Linked DNA regions of Homo sapiens: region 1 is linked to region 2. Evidence: promoter capture Hi-C in human tissues and cell types (Jung and others, 2019). All regions are on one chromosome and are shown on one strand. The core of a region is centred on a gene start or on the middle of the fragment in contact, and the rest is flanking DNA. Distances in the headings are between cores, read along the strand shown.

Evidence for each region. Contacts are between HindIII fragments. The study calls those that stand out against the background at their distance.
Region 1: a fragment that was not itself captured here is called in contact with the fragment with the promoter of SIGLEC6 in region 2 in 1 of the 25 tissues and cell types used here (spleen).

Annotation. Positions count from the first base shown.
Region 1 is chr19:51,696,525-51,699,421 of GRCh38, reverse strand. The region is part of intron 2 of SPACA6 (sperm acrosome associated 6); the gene reads right to left. Among named protein-coding and RNA genes, the nearest start is that of SPACA6-AS1, 4.5 kb to the right of the region's middle. The HindIII fragment of the contact is 6,273 bases long and covers 1-2,897 here.
Region 2 is chr19:51,530,420-51,533,406 of GRCh38, reverse strand. It overlaps SIGLEC6 (sialic acid binding Ig like lectin 6), which reads left to right and starts at 1,737. Exons shown (of 8, transcript NM_001245.7): 1 at 1,737-1,825; 2 at 1,888-2,247; 3 at 2,448-2,726; 4 at 2,923-2,970. The coding sequence starts at 1,759. The HindIII fragment of the contact is 9,007 bases long and covers 1-2,987 here.

The DNA of each region.
Region 1 (2,897 bases), core at 350-2,849, 170 kb before region 2:
GAACACAGATAAAAAGCTTCATCTCCCAGCCTTCCTTGCAGTTGTGGTCATGTGACCAAGTTGTAGCCATAGGATGCAAATGGATGTGTTATGTGAGTCACAGGAGGTGGCCTTAAAAGGGAGGTGGTACCGCACCTGGAATCACAGCTACTCGGGAGGCTGAGGTGACAGGATCACTTGAGGCCAGGAGTTCGAGACAAGCCTGGGCAACATATCCAGACACCATCTCTAAACAAATTTTTATAAATTAGCCAGGTGTGATGGTGTGCTTGTAGTCTTAGCTACTCAGGAAGCTGAAGTGGGAGGATGGTTGAGCCCAGGAGTTCAAGGCTGTAGTGAGCTATGATTGCACCACTGCCCTCCACCCAGCCTGGGCAATAGAGCAAGACCCTGTCTCTAAAAAACAAAGACAGAGAAGGTGGTGCCATCTTATTGTTCCCCTCATCCATCCTGCTGCCTGAAAATTTGTTTTGATGGTTGGAGCTCTAGCAGCCACACGGGACCATGAGGACAAGGGCTACTCCCTGGGATATTAAGTCTTGAAGGAGCTTGGATCCCCAAGAAATGGAGGTGCCATATTAGCCTTAAGTGCCTACCACAAGACTTACTTTATATAGGAGAGCTAAACTTCCTACGGGCTTAAAGCCATTGCAGGGACAGGGGAAAGCGTCCTCTGTGATTAAAGCCATACAAAAAGGGAGGGAACTGAGGATATTGGCAAGAAAGTGCCTAAAACAATGATCACTGGATATACACTTGGAGAGAGGAAGCACTGATGCCCAGAAGTGGGTTCCAAATGAGGACCCAGTGGTCTCTCCTTGGCCACAGAGCAGGAGTGTGGTCTCAAGATGGCAGGATGATCAGGAGCATGTGGTCAGACTGGGGTGCACAAATGAGAGGCCAGGATGTTGGAGGAGTCATCCAAAGAATTTCTATGTGCCAAATCAAATGACTCATGGGCAGGGTGAGCGTGGGATATACCAAGTAAGCCATGGTGGCCGGGTGGGCTTATACTCCACCAGGGGAGTATAAGTGGAGTGAAATGTTCCGAACAGGCCAAGTGGCCTGGGTTATAGCAAGCGGGCCATAAGGCGGCATGGGTGGGTGTTGTAAAGTCTCCCCCAGAGGAGTTGCATATCGTCAGGAGCTCTGACCCTGGTTCAGATCATCTGGGTCTGAGTCCTGGTGCTTCCGTCTTGAGCACACCTGTCTCAGATCTGAGTATCAATCACAAGCCCTCCTCCCCATGCGACCTTGGCCAAGTGACTTCACCTTCCTGATCCTCAGTTTCCTCATTCATCAAATGAGGATGACAGCAGTGTCTGTATCACAGAATTAGCGGGAGGATGAGACGCCATACAACCATGAAAGCATCCTCATCCCCACTCTTCCATGGCATCGTTTAATGATTGTATGAGATGGTGTCACTAAGTGTGTAGAATGGCTCCTAGCACGTAGTGAGTGTTAGAGAAGGCTGGCAAACTTAGGATTGCCATCTCCAAGTTTGAGGTGGGGAAACGGAGGCATGGGGAGATTAGAGAAGTGGTCCAAAATCACATGGCTACATTTGACCCTGGTGGTCAGGCTCCAGAGCCTCCACACCTAATCGCTGCATACATAATCTCCACACCTAATACTGCATCCAGTCTGTACCACGTCATCTACTCCATGGTTTATATATACATATATACAAATAAGATCACCTGGGATCACCAAGAGGCAGTCAGCCTACATCAGCTCCTCCATCTCCCTGCTGCTCCCTCTGGAGGAGACGCAAAAGTCATCCTTGATTCTTCCCATTGCCCTCACCCACCTACATCTGGTCCAGTCTATCTCCAAATATATCCTGGGCCTACTGTTCTTGTCCAGAAGAGCCCAGCGTTCCCTTCTGATAAGCGGGGCTATAAAACCCAGCCTCACAGGGCCGGTAGAGGATATCCTTTAGGAAGATACTTAATATGAATGACTCTGTGTATGGCAAACACAGCCTTTTGCACGCATGGGCAAGCCTGGCACACGGTCAAATCCTTATGCCCACCCCACTCTGCTCAGACCTCATCTGGGCCCCCGGACCACTGTGACTGGTCCAAGCCACCATGGGCCGGCTTCTCACTGGAAGTCTTCCTGCCTTTGTCCAGGCCCCATACAGCTGCCAGAGAGATCTTGTTAAATCCCAGGTCAGATCCTGTCTCTCTGTGTAAAGTCCTCCAACAGCTCCCCCATTTCAAGAGCAAAAAACAAAAGTCATTCCAAGGGCCTACAACAGTGATTCTCAAAGAGTGTTCCCGGAGCAGCAGCATCAGCATTCCCTGGGATCTTGACAGAAACGTCCATGTCTGGGCCCTACCTTGGACCTCCTGGTCAGAGGTGGTGAAGCCCAGAAATCTGCATTTTAAATAAGCTCCCAGGGGATTCTGATGTATGCTGGGGCTTGAGAACCCCCTGTCTATGAGGATCTACAGGAGGTGGCCCCTTGCTATCTCTCTGATTTCACCTTTACTCCAGCCCCACGGGCCCCAGGGTCTTGCACTGGCTATTCCCTGTGGCCTGAAAATCTCTTTCCACAGATTATCTGCATGGCTGTCGCTGTCACTGTCACCTTGCTCAGGTCTTTGCTCAACTGGACCCTGTCATTTCCACCTGCCCTGACCAACCTATTTAAAATTATCACCCAGCCAGGTACGGTAGTTCATGCCTGTAATCCCAGCACTTTGGGAGGCTGAGGTGGGAAGATCACTTGAGCCCAGGAGTTCAAGACCAACCCATGCAACATAACAAGACACCATCATTACAAACTATTTAAAAAATTAGCCAAAGATGGTGGCGCACACCTATAGTCCCAGCTACTTGGGAGGCTGAGGCAGGAAGATCGCTTGAGCCCAGGAGTTTGAAGCTGT
Region 2 (2,987 bases), core at 488-2,987:
ATAGAATTACTATTCGATCACTCAAGCAATCCCACTACTGGGTATCTACCCGAAGGGAAAGAAAGAAATACATCAAAGAGATACCTGCATTCACATGATTTTTGCTGCACTATTCACAATATCAGAGATATGGAACCAACCTAAGTGTCAATTAACAGATGAATGGATAAAGAAAATATAGTATACATGCTATTTGGCCATAAAAAAGAATGAAATCGTGTCATTTGCAGCAACATGGATGGGACTAGAATTCATTATCTAAATTGAAATAAGTCAGACACAAAAAGACAAATGTTGCATGTTCTCACTTACATGTGGGAGCTAAAAAAATATTATCACATGGAGGTGGACAGTAGAAAGATAGACAACAGAGACTGGAAAGGGTCAGATGGGGGAGGACAGAAGATGAAGAGAAGTGAGTGAAGTGCTACAAACATACAGTTAAAAGGAATAAATTCAGCGTTAGAGAGCAGAATAGTGTGATTTTAGTTAACAAGAATGTATTGCACTCACGTGACGGACACTCTAAATATCCTGACATAATCATTACGCATTATATACATGCAAAAAAATTTTACATCTACTCCTTAAGTTTGTAGAAATAAAAAAATTTACAAATATATGGTGGCAAATTCTAATACCTCATAGGTATTAGAGATTTGCCAGATGCATACTGCACAGAGGAAAATAGAAAACCATGTGAGCTAGACCTAAAAATTTTAATTTTGTCAGGATATTCTGCTCACGTTGTCCAGAAATATGTCTTTTGTGCCACATTTAACTGTGAGAAGCAGATTTTTCACAGGAAAGAAATTGCTAATCTCTATGATGAGGACCTAAAAAAAAATCTCTCCAGTCCACACTGCACTGAGTGGCAACATTAATTCAAAAGAAGTTTCTTCTGCACTGCAGTTCATAAAATATGTGTCCTTTTTGATTTACATGAAGATGTTGCATGGTTCTTATTTTGGAGATGTCATTGAAATTTTGTAAATCAGCGTACTAGCTGTCAAGGAAAAACCTCCATACTCATGTTTTAAAAAATATCTGGCATTCTACTGTGTCACTTGGCAAACTCACCAGTGTCCACAGCTCTAAAGCTAGATAGTGAGGGTGTGTGCTGAGGATGGGAAGCTATGGATGGGGATCATCTCAAGGGTAGGGACCAGGTCCCTGGCATCTCTTCTCCAGCCCGACCTACATACAGATGCTCACTATGTCTTTGGTGAATGAATGAATGAATGAATGAATGAGTGAATGAATGAGTGGCTATCACCCACACTGCACCTGGGACCCTTCTTCCTTTCACTGTCCCAGACACTCCCACAGACCCTACAGAATCCTATATCCTGCAGGACTGACTTTCTCATGGCGTGGGATGAGGCTGTGACTCTCTGGGGCCAGGAGTGACCAGCTCCCAGGTGTAAACAGTGGTGCACAGAAAAGCACCTCAGGTGGGCAGGGCCTTGGACACAGGTTTCGCATTCCTCAGATGCCCCGGGAGGCCCTGGTCCGGGCTCTGTTGCTCACAGGAAGCCCCGAGGTGGGAGGCGGGACACAGTCTCTTCTCCTCTGCTCTTCTTTGGGCAGGTCTCTGGGTCTCAAAGTTTCCGTCTGCTCTGTGCAGAGGGAGTGGAGCTCCGAGGGCTTGTGGCTTCGCAGTTCCTCTTCTGTGAACAGCCGAGATCACGCGCTCCTCCCCAGCCACCCGTTCCTCCCCGCAGTCCTTCCCCTCCACTCCCTTCCCCTTCTCTGCTCATGCAGGGAGCCCAGGAAGCCTCCGCCTCAGAGATGCTACCGCTGCTGCTGCCCCTGCTGTGGGCAGGTGAGTGGGCCAGGGGAGAGGTGCCGTGGGGCTGGGCCGAGCTGACCCTCATGTCTCCATAGGGGCCCTGGCTCAGGAGCGGAGATTCCAGCTGGAGGGGCCAGAGTCACTGACGGTGCAGGAGGGTCTGTGCGTCCTCGTACCCTGCAGATTGCCCACTACCCTTCCAGCCTCGTACTATGGTTATGGCTACTGGTTCCTGGAAGGGGCTGATGTTCCAGTGGCCACAAACGACCCAGACGAAGAAGTGCAGGAGGAGACCCGGGGCCGATTCCACCTCCTCTGGGATCCCAGAAGGAAGAACTGCTCCCTGAGCATCAGAGATGCCCGGAGGAGGGACAATGCTGCATACTTCTTTCGGTTGAAGTCCAAATGGATGAAATACGGTTATACATCTTCCAAGCTCTCTGTGCGTGTGATGGGTAAGGAACCAGCTCCAGGACTAGCCACAGGGGAAGGTCATGGGGGCCGTAGGGCAGGGCTGGGACGGGAGCCCCGTCTTGGGAGGCGGGTACAATTAAGCATGTTGGGCTCAGAGAAGGAGCTGGACCAGAGACTGGGCTTCCCCCTGGGTGAAACCTCAGACCTCCATCCTGATCCTGCGTCCCCATCTCCTCACCAGCCCTGACCCACAGGCCCAACATCTCCATCCCAGGGACCCTGGAGTCTGGCCATCCCAGCAATCTGACCTGCTCTGTGCCCTGGGTCTGTGAGCAGGGGACGCCCCCCATCTTCTCCTGGATGTCAGCTGCCCCCACCTCCCTGGGCCCCAGGACCACCCAGTCCTCGGTGCTCACAATCACCCCACGGCCCCAGGACCACAGCACCAACCTCACCTGTCAGGTGACGTTCCCTGGAGCCGGTGTGACCATGGAGAGAACCATCCAGCTCAATGTCTCCTGTGAGTGCTGGGCCAGGACGCCCGGGTCCCTGAGGGTGTGGGGGGACAGGGCAGGGCTGAGCCAGAGCTTAAAGTTGGGGACCTGGTTGCCAAAGAGGAGAGCCCCTTTCCCTGTTTTCATGGCTCCTGAGGGGAAGGCCCCATGCCTACCATCCCTCCTCAGGGATGTTGAGGCGGCCACCTCTTTCCACCCCAGATGCTCCACAGAAAGTGGCCATCAGCATCTTCCAAGGAAACAGCGCAGGTAGGAACCAGCCAGTC